Linked DNA regions of Homo sapiens: all the other regions are linked to region 2. The links are contacts of gene promoters, found by promoter capture Hi-C in human tissues and cell types (Jung and others, 2019). All regions are on one chromosome and are shown on one strand. The core of a region is centred on a gene start or on the middle of the fragment in contact, and the rest is flanking DNA. Distances in the headings are between cores, read along the strand shown.

Region 1 (3,631 bases), core at 474-2,973, 160 kb before region 2:
CCTGTGAGGAACGTCACTGTTTCAGAAATCTGCTCCTAAATTTCCCTGCAGGGAGCATCAGCCACAGAGAAGACTTTGCTCCAGGGACTCCCCTTACCCTAGGACACCTGACCTCTGACTTATAGCAACCTGTATCAATTAGATCACTCCATGGCTTCCATAGTGTCAACAGGGGAGCTGTTAGCACTTGGTCTCTGAGGAGCACGGGTTCAAGGCAATGGGAGGCTGGCAGCCCAGAAGCTTCAGAGCTGCCATTTAGGTGGGAGATAAATTAAGGGGCCTGGTTGGAAGTGTGCACTCAACTAGGGGTCAGGGGTCCACTGTTTCTGGTTGGGTGGAAACATCTTTTGTGAGTCTGGATAGTGTCTTAATTTGAGGACCTTAATGTTCAGTTGTGAATGGCCCTTCCTTGCCTCCCAGCGAGGCTGGGGAGAGAAAGCACTCCCAGATGATAGATACCTTAAGCTGCTTTGAACCTGAGAAGAGAAGGTGCATCCCAAGTCACAGGATGGTCATTAATGTTGGCCTGTCATTCTTTTCACATGTAAATTTAAACCCCCTGGCATAGCTGGGTTGGGGGGGTCTCCCCCACTGATTCCCAAAGCAGCTAGGACACTGACCTCCTTTGACAAAGAGACCCTCATAGAGGAGTCTGATCTGAACCAGTCAGCCTAAGAACTTGGCTGGCTTGAGGGCAGGGGCCTGAGGATGGGGACTTTGGTGATGGTGGTTGGGGTGGAGGGGGGTGTGTCTTTAATTAGAGAAGAACAGTGTGGCCTCGGACAAGCCGAAAGCACCAAGACCTCAGCTGAACTGAAGTTAGTGTGTGGCAGAAAAAGCCCCTCTAGCCCCTGCTGGGCTTGGCACTGGGGACAATCAGTGCTTCCCTAGGCTTCCATCCCTAGAACAATCAGTCCATCCATCCACCATGTGGGGAGAAGTGGGGGAAAGGAATAAGGACAGGCCTCTCTCAGGAACCCCCGTTGGGGGAAGGTCACAGGGTCACCAAGACTTCCTGGCCAAGGCTTGGGCCTCTGCCTGGACACAGCTTGAGAGACAAGAGCCCAAAAGGTTGGCCCTACCAAACCTGAAAGCTTCTGATCCCAGGGGGCCCAGGGAGCTCCCTTCTGGAGGCTGCCCACAGCCAACATCCCGCCCCACAGGCTGGTCAGTGATCCCCCCCTGCTGTAAACAGTTTGTGTCCCCCAATGCAGAGGGCAAAGGCTGTGGGGCTTCCAGACTGAGAGGAGAGGACGGTGTGTGGCCTAGAGGTCCTGACACCCTTACGTTATTTGTGGCAGGCTCTGGCAACAATGTCAGGAGAAGAGATTACATCTTCAGAGCCAAGCATCAAAAACTTCCTACCTGGGCACCTCCAGGGAGGCTGGCTGGGGTTACTGTTTCTCTTCCCACTACAGGCAGGTGGCAGGGATGGGTGCCCCCACCCCCACACACTGCAGAGGGACCTGGCTGGTGGGGAGGGAGCGGGTAGATGCAGCAGGAGGAAGCTTTCCCATGGTTCCTGTCCCAGGGGCAGAAGGATATAGCTAATCCCACCGGGCAGGATGGTGGGCTGGGCCTCCCCCTCTCTGGGGTCCCTTTGGGAAAGGGCCAGGGACTGCCCCTTGTCAGGCTGAGGGAAGGAGGGGCCAAGCGTCTTACCATCCCTCCTGGTGAGGCAGGCAGTGTTTGTGGGCCTCCTCTGCGTTTTCCAAATGAAGTTGGTACTGGCCCCTGTGCCCAGGGTAGGTGGGTGAGGAGGGGTTACTCAGGTAAAAGCTGACCCAGGCGAGGATGGGGACCCTCACCTCCGCTTATTACTGATGCGCCTTCCCCAGCCCAACAAGCGCGTCTCCACCAGCGGGCACCTCCCTCAGCACGGACCCACCCCTTCGTCCTAGAGCGCAGGCATCACCCAGGGGTTGGCGCCCACTCCGTGGCTGCTCAGAGGGAAAAACTTGGGAGCAGCGACGCACCGCCGCCCGGCAGCAGTGCCAGCCTGTGCCCGGGGCCGGCGACGGCGCCTCCCACCCTGCACAGCCGCGGCTGCGGTGCCGCGGGTCCCCTTGCAGCCGCCCGGGAGCGACCGGCCCTGCGCACCCCAGCCCTGCCCCGCGCCCGCCCGCCTGCCTGCCTGCCTTACCATGGCTGCAGCCCGGGCGGGGCCGGCTCCGCCTGGACAGCGCCCGAGCGACCCGCGGCGGAGCTGCGCGCCGACCTCGCAGCACCGCCGTCACCCTCCCGCCTCCCCGAGTGCGGACCGCTGCGGGAGGGGCCCGGCGGCGGGGGCGGAGCGAGTCGGCCCCGGGGCGGGGCCTGTACCTCAGCTGCTAGCGGTGCCGGCGCGAAGTGGGTCGGGGTGCCCAGCTGGGGGCCGGCCTCGCAGCCCGCGACCCCCGGATGCGCAGAGTATGCAGAGTCACCCAGGACAGAGCGGGGAGCCTCAGCTCCTCGTCCCCGGGCTGCACTGGACACCTGGCTCTTTTTTACTCAGCTCCAGAAGCACCGCGGGGGCTTGAGCCAGTTCCCAAAGAAAAAGGAACGGCCCACCTGACATCCCCAGAAGGAGACGCCTTTGGAAGGGAGGGGGAGTTGCTGCATGAGTTGGAGAGAAACCATTAGTTACCGCAGGGATTCAACAAGGTTTTCACAAAGTGAATCCGGCTGATGCCCAAGTTACTGATCACTACACCTCCTAAAGGGGAATGTCAGATATTCTCCACCTCCACCCGAGCTGTGAAGGGGCAGGTTAGAGGCAGGTTCCCTTCATGCAGTACCCCAGATTACAGATTAAAGAGGATTTGCTGCACAAATTATCCAGGGATCATCTGCTGGAAGGATAGAAGGGAGAGGCTGAGTGGCTTTAACAGGGCGGTGTAGCCTTGCCTGTGGCTGAGGACAGTGGGGAGGGCCTCAGGAGAGGCCAACCCAGGCGTGACCCAGGCCCAGCTGGGCCACTCTTCCTCTGACAAGCAGGTGAGATGCCGAGGGGACAGATGCCCCAGAAGCTTTAGAGGCATTAGAGGCTCAGAAAGGTCAGAGCAGCAGCTAGGGGAAGGCAGATGCTTGGTGAGTGGGGTGTTGGTGAGGGATTCCCTGAGCTAAGTAGGGTCTGAGCTGGTCAGGCTCCTGTGGAAGTTTCCAGAAGCATGTCCCTTCCTGACCCGCAAGACCCCTCTCTCAATGGCAGGCTGACTGGCTTCTGCCTGAATACACTCTGGACAAAACTGAGACCCACAGGCACGGCCCTCTCTGTTGGTAGAAGTGCCAGAGGCCTGCCTGCTGTATTTCAGTCTGACCTGTGAACCAGTAGCACTGGTTGGGACCAGTCAGAACTCAGCCAGGGGAGGGAAGAGGGCCTGGGGCAGCAGGTAAGATCAGGCTGAGAAAAACAATGGGGCTGCTACTGGAGATGTTATTGGCTGTTTGGCACTGGTGGACTGGAAGATGGCAGGGTGTTCATGAGCCAGCCGGTTGAGGAGAAACCTTCCTAGCTGGGTGGCCTTGAGCAACTTACTTCACCTGTCAGGGTCTCAATTTCCATACCTGAAAATGAGGGGATTAAACTAGATGATTTCTAAGCTTCCTTACAGCTCTGGCCTTCTAAAAGTGGATGCAGTGGGGGAAGGAG
Region 2 (3,304 bases), core at 800-3,299:
CCCACCACCGCACCCAGCTAATTTTTTGTATTTTTAGTAGAGACGGGGTTTCATCATGTTAGCCAGGATGGTCTCGATCTCCTGACCTTGTGATCTGCAGAAGATATTAATAGCACTTAAATTATACAGCTATAGATAGAGTTGAGTGGGGGTTTTTTTGTTTTTTTTATTTTGCTTTGTTTTGTTTTTGAGATGGAGTCTCGCTCTGTCGCCCAGATTGGAGTGGAGTTACGCAATCTCAGCTCACTGCAACCTCAACCTCCCGGGCTCAATTGGTTCTCCCACCTCAGCCTCCCAAGTAGCTGGGACTAGAGGCATGTACCACCATGCTGGCTAATTTTTGTATTTTTTGTAGAGATGGGGTTTTGCCCTGTTGCCCAGGCTGGTCTCAAACTCCTGAGATCAAGCGATGTGCCCTCTTTGGCCTCCCAAAGTGCTTGGATTCCAGGCTTAAGCCACTGTGCCAGGCCAAAGTAGTTTTGAACTTTCCACTGTCAACGAAAGAAATTCTAAACACGACTGATTCCACTGAGTTTGACCAAACTAACTGAAGACTTATTGTTGAATGTGGTAATACCATGTTTTTTCTTCACCCAAGAATCTGGGTGCTTTATAAGCATAAGCATGAAATCTCCCTGAAGATAGTATTTATGCATCCACTGAGCGCTCAAATATAGACCATATTAGAAGTTAAGCAATGGGTTGAGTGGCCAACCACATTTTGGCCAGTCCTACAAGACTTTCTTTGACCTACCAAATGGGGTATAAATGCTTCTCGTATTCTCCCCGCCAGTAGGGACTCAAAATCTTAATAGCTCGGGGTAGTAAAAAGGATGCTAGGTTTGAATCTTGGCTTTAAGAAAACTGTGCTGAGGTGTTTTGTTTGTTTGAGACAGGGTTTCACTCTATCACCCAAGCTGGAGTGCAGTGGCGTGATCATAGCTCACTCCCAGGCTGAAGGGATCCTCCCACCACAGACTTCTGAGTAGCTGGGACGACCGGTGCATGCCACCATGCCCGGCTAATTTTTTGTACTTTTGGTACAGACAGTGTTTCGCCATGTTGTCGAGGCTGGTCTCAAACTCATGAGCTCAAAGAGATCCACCTGCCTCGACCTCCCAAAGTGCTGGGATTACAGGCACGAGCCACTGCGCCCGGCCAGCTTTTTTTCTTTTATCAGAATTGATATTAAACTATATGCTGAGCTTCCATGTCCTTATCTTCCTTTTGGCATGGCTATGGCCATTTGAAATGTGTGGGATTTGCTAAAGTGCTCAACATACGTTGTTTCCTTTTTTAGATCTAAGTATGTAGAGGGCTCTGATTTGCAATATTTAGAAAGTTCTTCTAAGCTGGGAAGAAAAGTCAAGACTAAGAATCATTGCCAACAGGGCCGGGCGCGGTGGCTCACGCCTGTACTCCCAGCATTTTGGGAGGCCGAGGCAGGCGGATCACGAGGTCAGGAGTTCGAGACCAGCCTGGCCAATATGGTGAAACCCCTTCTCTAATAATAATACAAAAATTAGCCGGGCATGGTGGCGTGCGCCTGTAATCCCAGGTACTCAAGAGGCTGAGGCAGGAGACTCACTTGAACCCGGGAGGCGAAGGTTGCAGTGAGCCGACATCGTGCCACTGCACTCCATCATGGGCAACACAGTGAGACTCTGTCTCAAAAAAAAAAAAAAAAAAATCGCCAATAGGTAGGGAATAAGTTACCCCCTGCTAAATAAGTTACACTCACCTAGGCAAGGAAGGAACTCATAAACCACCTTCTAAACTGCTTGCCTTCCTCCCCGAAGTTCTGTAATTTAGAGGCGGTCACTACCACTGCTTGAACACCCCTTCCCAAGTCTGTACCACAAAAGGAGCTCTTGTGTAGCCCAGCCCCTCCTTCTCAGGACCCCAGGAGCCCAGACACACTAATGGGGACATTAGTTGCTTACTTTTCCAGCTACTGCTTAAGCTAGGCAGGCCATGAAGAAATAACGGTCTCAGTAACCTCCATGCTCGGGATACGACTCCCGGGAAGACGTGGGTGGGTGCGGGGAATGCGGACTGATCCCTCCCAGCGGCCGTTGGGGGCTGGCCCACAATCCCTCGCGAGGGCGGGAAAAGCAATGTGGTCGTTGCGGGGGGGGGGGGTCAGAAAAGGGGGACGGTCAGCGGGAAGAGCCAAGAGACTGCAACTCTACAAAGAGCACGCAGATTAATTCTAATGATTGTTCCCTGAGCTTTTCACACCAAAATAATGGTAACTGGCTAGTGTGTGCCCGTTACGCTCACTACTCCCACTCGAGATCATTCCTATTAATGACTCTGAGGCTTCACCTAACAGGCCACGGTGGAGGCAAGGAAATGTGGCGTGGAGAACCCACTGGGCCTGGCTCTCCGTCCTATGGTCTCCGTCCATCGTTTTACAGTCAGGGTGTACATTTGATGAGGAATCTCTAAATGGGATTTTGGGGAATCAAAACGGAATGGTGCATAAGTGTGAAAATTTACAAGACTGCGCAAAGCTGCAAGGCCCGGAGCCCCGTGCGGCCAGGCCGCAGAGCCGGCCCCTTCCGCTTTACGTCTGACGTCACGCCGCACGCCCCAGCGAGGGCGTGCGGAGTTTGGCTGCTCCGGGGTTAGCAGGTGAGCCTGCGATGCGCGGGAAGACGTTCCGCTTTGAAATGCAGCGGGATTTGGTGAGTTTCCCGCTGTCTCCAGCGGTGCGGGTGAAGCTGGTGTCTGCGGGGTTCCAGACTGCTGAGGAACTCCTAGAGGTGAAACCCTCCGAGCTTAGCAAAGGTAACGACTCCTGATGGCAAGCTGAGGCACACCGGCCGCCGTCAGCGCCGCCTCAGTCTTCGTTCTCTCGCCTCGGCCTTCAGCCCAGTCTCCGTTAGATTCTGCTTCCTCCCACGTCCATGTTTACAGCGTGAAAGAGCTCCTCGACTCCACTTACAAGTTGTCTGAATGGTTAGGAGAACTGTGGTCGTGAAAACATTTACTAATTGCTTTTCCTCTGGCAATGCCTGCTGAATGCTTTGAGGATTGTCTCATTTAACCCTCAACCCGCTTACGTAGATTATTATATTCAGTATATGGATGAGAGAACTGATATCTTGGGGAGCTTAGGTAACTTTTCATGCTAACTGGGTTAGGAAATACTGGAGTCAGAATTGGTTGTCTAATTTTTGCTGTTCCAAGATCCAAGGGGTAAGGGTTAAATTTCAGAAATGCAGGATTTTGTGTAGGACTAGAGACACTAAGAATGAGAAAGAGAGTAGAATCCCCGGAATCTTGAGGAAGCATAGAA
Region 3 (3,673 bases), core at 576-3,075, 130 kb after region 2:
AGTGTGCTTATTGGACCTACAAATAGGAGATATGTGTATAAATGACTTTAAAACACTGACAGACTATATGAATAAGTTAAAATGAATAAGGTAGAGACTGAATATACATCAATGACTATTATTTCATTATAGGGTCCAAATGGTGCTAGAAGCTCAACAAAATTATTGTCCATGTGCTGTTATCTTATTTAGATATACAAACAATTTAAAATAAATGTATTTAAATTATATCATAAATAAAATAAATTACTTGTGGGAGTGAGTCATAATTAATGATTATAGTAGCAATGGTCCTACTAATTTTAGACAAACAGATTGCTGTGCTATATGAACAACTAACTATGAAGACTAAATAGATACCAAATTCTGTTATAATAAAGTAAAACATAACTTGATCTGAAACATTTAATCATGGGCTTAATTCCAATTATAATGTATGATGTTTAAAGTATAAGTGATAAGTTGTTCACATAAGTGATTATTATTATATATAATTAATATTATAAACCTTCAGCTTAGCTTTGTATTTTTGTTTGTTTGTTTGTTTGTTTGTTTTTGGTTTTTGGAGATGGAGTCTCGCTTTGTCACCCAGGCTGGAGTGCAGTGGTGCAATCTTGGCTCACTGCAAGCTCTGCCTCCCGGGTTCACGCCATTCTCCTGCCTCAGCCTCCTGAGTAGCTGGGACTACAGGCGCCCGCCAACACGCCTGGCTAATTTTTTGTATTTTTAGTAGAGACGGGGTTTCACCGTGTTAGCCAGGATGGTCTCGATCTCCTGACCTTCTGATCCGCCCGTCTCGGCCTCCCAAAGTGCTGGGATTACAGGCGTGAGCCACCGCGCCCGGCCAGCTTTGTATTTTTCTAATTATCTGGAGAGGAGATAGGAGTTTACTAGAAAAAGAAGAAAGTTTTTTCATTTCAATATGAAGATTCCTACATTCAAGCCCCTTTTCCAATAGGCGCCACTCAGAGATCAGAATAATGACACATTCTTTGGTATAGATACACACACTCTGGGTGTTTAAGTTAGCTTACGGCAGGGCAGGAACTTGCCCGATATAATAGAAAGAATTCCTTTGATTGAGAAGCGGATACTGGTTAGCAAGGACCTTGGAAAACTAGTAGAAGAGATGGAAATAGAGTAATAACCGAAGTCTTCTTTAACAATGAAGAAACTTATTTTGAGACTCCAGGGGTTGGAGAAAGGGTTTTCCTGGGCTTTAGAACTCCATTGTTATTTGGTAAAGGCTGGGAGGGGAGTGGGCTGAAAGTATGAAAACTGTCCTTTCCCAAATTTCTCCCCCATCTTGTCTAAAATGACCAATTATTCAACGCTTATGCAGCTTTTAGTATAAACTAGTTTAGTCAACTAGCTTTTCTAATAACTAACTGAGATATATCAAGGTAATGAGATTTTGAAAGGCGATCAAGGAAAAAGCAAAATATCGTTTTAAAGCATAAGTTGTTGATGAACACAAAGCTTTAAGTGGGAGCTGGCAGCTTCAGGAAGGAATCTGGCAGGAAGAAGACCAAGATAGCCCAGAGAGTGATGAGGATTACTAAAACAAGAGATGGAAAGAAGAATGTAGTAAAGGAGTTGAGCAAGTAACAACAGCAAAAAAAGTGAAAAGAGACCAAAGAAAAGGAGGCACTGAAGCATAGCATTGAATGAAGTACATATGCAACTAGGAGCAAGCATTATAAAATATGAGCAGCAGTGTGGGTTGTTTACTTAGAAGTAAAGTTGCTAAGTCTGAATTTATTTTTATTTATTTATTTATTTATTTATTTATTTATTTATTTATTTATTTATTTTTTGACGAGTCCCAAGTATCTTTCTCCAAAACAAGAGGGAATACCAGCTGACTTCTGATTCTGTTATAGGTTAAGCTGATAATTATGGTTAGAACCTCTAGGTGTTTGCTATATTGTTAGCTAGTAGGAAGAATGTTGGAAGATTGGAGCCAGTTTCAATTGCCCATCTGTTCTGGTCTTATACTAGGATTAAGTGTTTACTAAAAATAGAACGGGGTAACATTGCCAAACGTGTAGCCCATAGGCATTTGTAAACTTGCTCTCTTATTAAGATAATTCATGCTTTAAACACTGGTTGGCCATGAATTGAAGATGTAAAGATGAGGATTTAATAGGTAGTTTTTTTCTGGAATAGATGATATGCTTTTTTTCTGTGGGGAAATTCTAATTACAACAAGCATAGGTTTAAGCCTCTGGCTGATAATTAAAGTTATGCTATCAGTCAGGTCTTACCGTACTGCCAGTACTTGCTGTTGGAGAGAGAATAGATTGTAATAGATTCTGTTGTTCAGGGTCTGTGACAACTGAAGCCTGCCAAAGTCAGTTGCGCCATTCTCTCCTCTTTGTCATATGTAAGTGAGGCAGCAAAGTATTGTGAAAAAAATATGTCAAGAGAGCTGACTTATACGATGATTATTGCTCTTCTTGTTTGACCTGGGGCAAGCCCTTCTGAGCATTTTTTTTTTAATTTTCAAAATGAAAATAATACCTATTTTATCCAAGTGGAAGCATTATTGTAGAGTCAGACATTATAGTGTATGTAAGCACTTTTTAAACTATAAAGACAACGTATAAAAATGAGGTTTTCATTTCTATCACCTAAGAATTGTTTCTAGTTTAAGAGAGGCTGAAATGGTCATATTTCTGTCATGTAGGCATTTCTCATAAATTTTTCAAGGAATGGAATGGGCAGGAAAGGAACTATGAAAGTAATGGAAAAGAATCATGTGGGTATTTGCATGAAAGACAGACTTACTTGAAATTCTAGGCACAGGAATGGTTTCTCAGGATTGTGATAACGCTGTTCTCTGAAAGATTTAGGTGAAAAGGCAAAGACCTTATTTATGATTAGATATGTTTTATATCAAAATATGACAGTAATGAATATAGGAGAATGAATCTTATGCATCTATAGTTACTCTTTGAAAATAACATTGCTGGCTGCTATCTGAATCACCTGTTGTTCAGTTATTTTTTTTCCCTTAGGAAATTGTGTTTTGTATATTTTTAAATTATTGTAAAATGTCTGCAAAATTAATCTGCACCACAGGAAAGATAAAAAATAAAGAAAAACATCTGCAAAATTAAGCATTGATTAGATTAAATATGGACGAGGTGCAGAATTTAAATTTATTTATTTATTTATTTTTTGAGACAGAGTCTTGCTCTGTTGCCCAGGCTGGAGTGCAGTGGCTCGATCTCAGCTCACTGCAAGCTCTGCCTCCCAGGTTCACACCATTCTCCTGCCTCAGCCTCCCGAGTAGCTGGAACTACAGGTACCCGCCACCACACCCGGCTAATTTTTTGTATTTTTAGTAGAGACAGGGTTTCACCACGTTAGCCAGGATGATCTCAATCTCCTGACCTCGTGATCTGCCTGCCTCAGCCTCCCAAAGTGCTGGAATTACAGGTGTGAGGCACCGTGCCCGGCCTGCAAAATTTAAATTTAATACAAATTTAATGGACTATCCCCAAATATATGGATGTGTAGAATATTATATATGTTTTTAAAACATGAGTTAGAGAAAGGGTTGGAGAAAGGGTTTGAAAGGAGATGAGCACAAAGATGAATATCTCCAATTCAAGGTAGAAAATGTACATAACAATTATCAGTCAATACATTTATTTATATATAATTT
Region 4 (3,710 bases), core at 45-2,544, 210 kb after region 2:
CAGTCTGTAACTCAGATCTTCTGTAAATAATGGAACCTGAAGACCTGGTTACCTGTTTAAATGAGGAAAGGGAAAAAGAAGTGGAGAACAAATGAAAATTAAAATCTTATATTGTCCTGCCACACTGACATGCACACCCACAGACATAAACGTACCACTTTTCTGCCTAATCCCAGCTTCTGGGTTGTTCAGTTTTTATTGAGTTCTTAGAAGGAAGAGGGCCTAGAAAATTATAGATTAATCTGTATTTGTGAATAATTGAGAACTCACTAATAAAATGGGCACCTTGGATATTATGTTTACTTCTTGTTGTAAAAAACAGAGTAAAGCTTTGTTACCTAGGGTTCTCCCCTCTTCCCCTGCCAATTATTAGAAAAGTAATCTAATATTTTCCAAATAAATATATAATTGTGGAGGACTTTCAATAGACACTAAAGAATAGCAAAGTAACGCAGATCTATAATGAAACCAGATCTGATAGTGTTATTACTTTTACTTGAATTTGAAATAATTTCAAAAAGAGCCAGAAATTATTATTGAGATCTATACTATTCTGAAAGCTGAGATAGAGAAGAAAGTTGAATACATGTCCACTACCCTCTTGCAGATAGTGAAAAATGTGTGAATAAATTTATAATTATGACATAATAAATAAAAAAGGTACTATGAAAGTATAGAAGTTGAAGAAAAGAAGTTGAAGTCTTTCTTATATAATATTTTGCTTAGCAGGGTTGGCATGTACTATCATCTTTATTTGCCAGATGAAGAAATTTGAGTTGAAAGAGGTTAAGTATCTTGCTCAGTTACACAGAATAAGTGGTATAGTAGTACATTCTTAATGTATAAGTGATCAGAGGCTGGGGAAATGATTTCTAACAAGGGTAATAATTTTTATAATACTGCCTGATATTTTTACACTTTGAATCTGATTTATAAGATTGTCTTTCTACCTACTTGATTCTGCAAAGAATTTGAAAGTTCTTCTCATAGGCGAATGACTATCCTTGTCTTAAATTATCTGCTTATCTAGAAGATATCTGCAAAATAACTTGCTGGGATTTTGGTTGGGGTTGTGTTGAATTTATAGATCAAATGGGAATAACTGGCATCTTGACAATATTGAGTCTCCCAATCCATGAATATGAAATATTTCTCCATTAATTTAGTTCTTTGATTTCTTTCAACAGAGTTTTGTAGTTTTCCTTATATTAGATCTCATACATATTTTGTTAGATTTATACCTACATGTTTCATTTTGGGGGGTGCTAATGTAAATGGTGTTGTAGTTTTAATTTCACATTCCCCACTTATTCATTGCTGGTGACCAACATGGAGAAACCCCATCTCTACTAAAAATACAAAAAAAAAAAAAAAAATCAGCCGGATGTGGTGGTGTATGCCTGTAATCCCAGCTACTTGGGGAGGCTGAGGCAGGAGAATCGCTTGAACCCAGAAGGCGGAGGTTTTGGTGAGCCGAGGTCGTGCCATTGCACTCCAGCCTGGGCAACAAGAGTGAAACTCCATCTCAAAAAACAAACAAACAAACAACAAAAAACAACAAACAATTTCTCCTATAGTTTTGTATAATTCCTTGTTGGTTCTAGGGGTTTTTTGACTCTTTCAGATTTTCTACATAGTTATGTTAGTTTTCTACATGTTACAGTTTTATTTCTTCCTTCCTAATCAGTATACCTTTTAATTCTTTTTCTTGTCTTATTGCATTAACTAGGACTTCAAGTACAATGTTGAAAAAGAGTAGTGAGAGGGAACATCCTTGCCTTGTTCCTGATCTTAGTAGGAAAGCTTCTAGTTGTTTACCATTAAGTGTGAAGCTAGCTGTAAGTCTTTTATAGATATTCTTTATTAAGTTAAAGAAGTTGCCCTCTATTTCTGGTTAACTGAGAGTTTTTATCATTAATGCGTGTTGAATTTTATCAAGTGCTTTTTCTGCATCTTTTGATATGATCATGTAATTTTTCTTTTTTAGCCTTTTGATATGATAGATTACATTAATTGATTTTTAATGATCATCAGATGCATCAATTTTGCATATCTGAGATAAATCCCACTTTTTTGTAATGTATAAATCTTTTTATACATTGTTGGATTTGGTTTGCTAATATTTAGATGAAGATTATTGCCCCTTTGTTCCTGAAGATATTGGTCTGTAGTTTTTTTTTCTTGTAACATCTTTGTTGGGCATTAAAGTAATGGTAGTCTCATAGAATGAGTTAAGTTAGCCACTGCACCCAGCCTATTTCCCTTTTTTAATTTTTAATTTTTGTGGGTTAATAGGTGCACTAATTAATTAATAGGTGTATTAATTTTTATTAATAGAATGAGTAATGGTAGTCTCAGAGAATGACTTCTATCTTCTGAAAGAGACTGTAGAGAAATAGTATAATTTATGCCTTAAATATTTGGTAGAATTCTCCAGTGAACCTATCTGGTTTTGGTGCTTTGTATTTTGAAAGGTTATTAATTATTGATTCAATTTCTGTAATCAATTTAGACCTATTCAGATAGTTTAATTCTTGGCAGATTGAGTCTTGCAAGGAATTGATTCATTTCATCTAAGTTATCAAATTTGTATCAATTAATTTGTATCAAATTAAAAATCAATTAATGTAATGCATAGAGTTCTTCATAGTATTACTTTTATTATCCTTTCAATGTCCATGGGATCTATAGTGATGTCCCATCTTTCATTCCTGACATTAGTAACTTGCATCCTCTCCTTTTTTCTTAGTTAGCCTGGCTAGAGGCTTATCGATTTTATTGACTCTTTCAAAGAACCAGCTTTTAGTTCCATTGATTTTCTCTATTGATTTCCTATTTTCAATTTCATTGATTTCTGCTCTAATTTTTATTATTTCCTTCACCCAGGCTGGAGTGCAGTGGCACTGCCAGGGCTCACTGCAGCTTCAATCTCCCAGGCTCAAGTGATCCTCCCACCTCAACCTCCCGAGTACCTGGGACTACAGGCGTGTGCCACCTGTCCAGCTAATTTTTGTATTTTTTGTATAGACAGGGTTTTGCCATGTTGGCCACTCTGGTCTTAAACTCCTGGGCTCAAGTGATCTGTCCACCTCAGCCTCTCAAAGTGCTGGGATTACAGGTATGAGCCACTGTGCCCAACCCATTTCCCTTTTTTAATTTTTAATTTTTATGGGTACATAGTAGGTATATTAATTTTTATTATTTATTTCCTTCTGCTTTCTTTGGATTTAATTTGCTCTTCTTTTTCCAGTTTCCTAATGTGGAAACTTAAATTATTTATTTTAAATTTTTTTTCTAATATATGCACTTAATGTTACCAATTTCCCTTTAAGCACTGCTTTCACTGTATTCCACAGATTTTAATAAGCTGTGCTTTCATTTTCATTTAGTTCAAAATATTTTAAATTTCTCTTGAAAATTTTTCTTTGATTCATGTGTTATTTAGAAGTGAATTGTTGGCCAGGCCCAGGGGCTTACGCCTGTAATCCCGGCACTTTGAGAGACTGAGGCAAGTGGATCACGAGGTCAGGAGATCGAGACCATCCTGGCTAACACAGTGAAACCCCGTGTCTACTAAAAATACACACACAAAAAAAAATTTAGTCGAGCGTGGTGGCACATGCCTGAAGTCTCAGCTACTTGGGAGGCTGAGGCAGGAGAATCGCTTGAACCCAGGAGGCGAAGGCTGCAGTGAGCCAGGATCGCGCCAC

Evidence for each region. Contacts are between HindIII fragments. The study calls those that stand out against the background at their distance.
Region 1: a contact is called between a fragment that was not itself captured here and the fragment with the promoter of TEX14 in region 2, in 10 of the 25 tissues and cell types used here (H1 embryonic stem cells, IMR-90 fibroblasts, aorta and 7 more).
Region 3: a contact is called between a fragment that was not itself captured here and the fragment with the promoter of TEX14 in region 2, in 1 of the 25 tissues and cell types used here (psoas muscle).
Region 4: a fragment that was not itself captured here is called in contact with the fragment with the promoter of TEX14 in region 2 in 2 of the 25 tissues and cell types used here (hippocampus and spleen).

What each region holds. Positions count from the first base shown.
Region 1 is chr17:58,529,818-58,533,448 of GRCh38, forward strand. The region is part of intron 3 of SEPTIN4 (septin 4); the gene reads right to left. The region is part of intron 2 of SEPTIN4-AS1 (SEPTIN4 antisense RNA 1); the gene reads left to right. Among named protein-coding and RNA genes, the nearest start is that of SEPTIN4-AS1, 12 kb to the left of the region's middle. RefSeq lists an enhancer at 1,397-1,897 and a silencer at 1,995-2,444. The HindIII fragment of the contact is 6,319 bases long and covers 1-3,631 here.
Region 2 is chr17:58,689,996-58,693,299 of GRCh38, forward strand. TEX14 (testis expressed 14, intercellular bridge forming factor) reads right to left here and starts at 2,050. Exons shown (of 32, transcript NM_031272.5): 1 at 1,944-2,050. IGBP1C (IGBP1 family member C) reads right to left here and starts at 2,050. Exons shown (of 2, transcript NM_001395966.1): 1 at 1,944-2,050. RAD51C (RAD51 paralog C) reads left to right here and starts at 2,607. Exons shown (of 9, transcript NM_058216.3): 1 at 2,607-2,793. The coding sequence starts at 2,649. RefSeq lists enhancers at 2,365-2,464, 2,795-2,964. The HindIII fragment of the contact is 12,262 bases long and covers 1-3,304 here.
Region 3 is chr17:58,820,564-58,824,236 of GRCh38, forward strand. All of the region lies in intron 1 of PPM1E (protein phosphatase, Mg2+/Mn2+ dependent 1E), which reads left to right. Among named protein-coding and RNA genes, the nearest start is that of PPM1E, 67 kb to the left of the region's middle. The HindIII fragment of the contact is 4,168 bases long and covers 1-3,673 here.
Region 4 is chr17:58,903,498-58,907,207 of GRCh38, forward strand. All of the region lies in intron 1 of PPM1E (protein phosphatase, Mg2+/Mn2+ dependent 1E), which reads left to right. Among named protein-coding and RNA genes, the nearest start is that of PPM1E, 150 kb to the left of the region's middle. The HindIII fragment of the contact is 5,961 bases long and covers 1-3,710 here.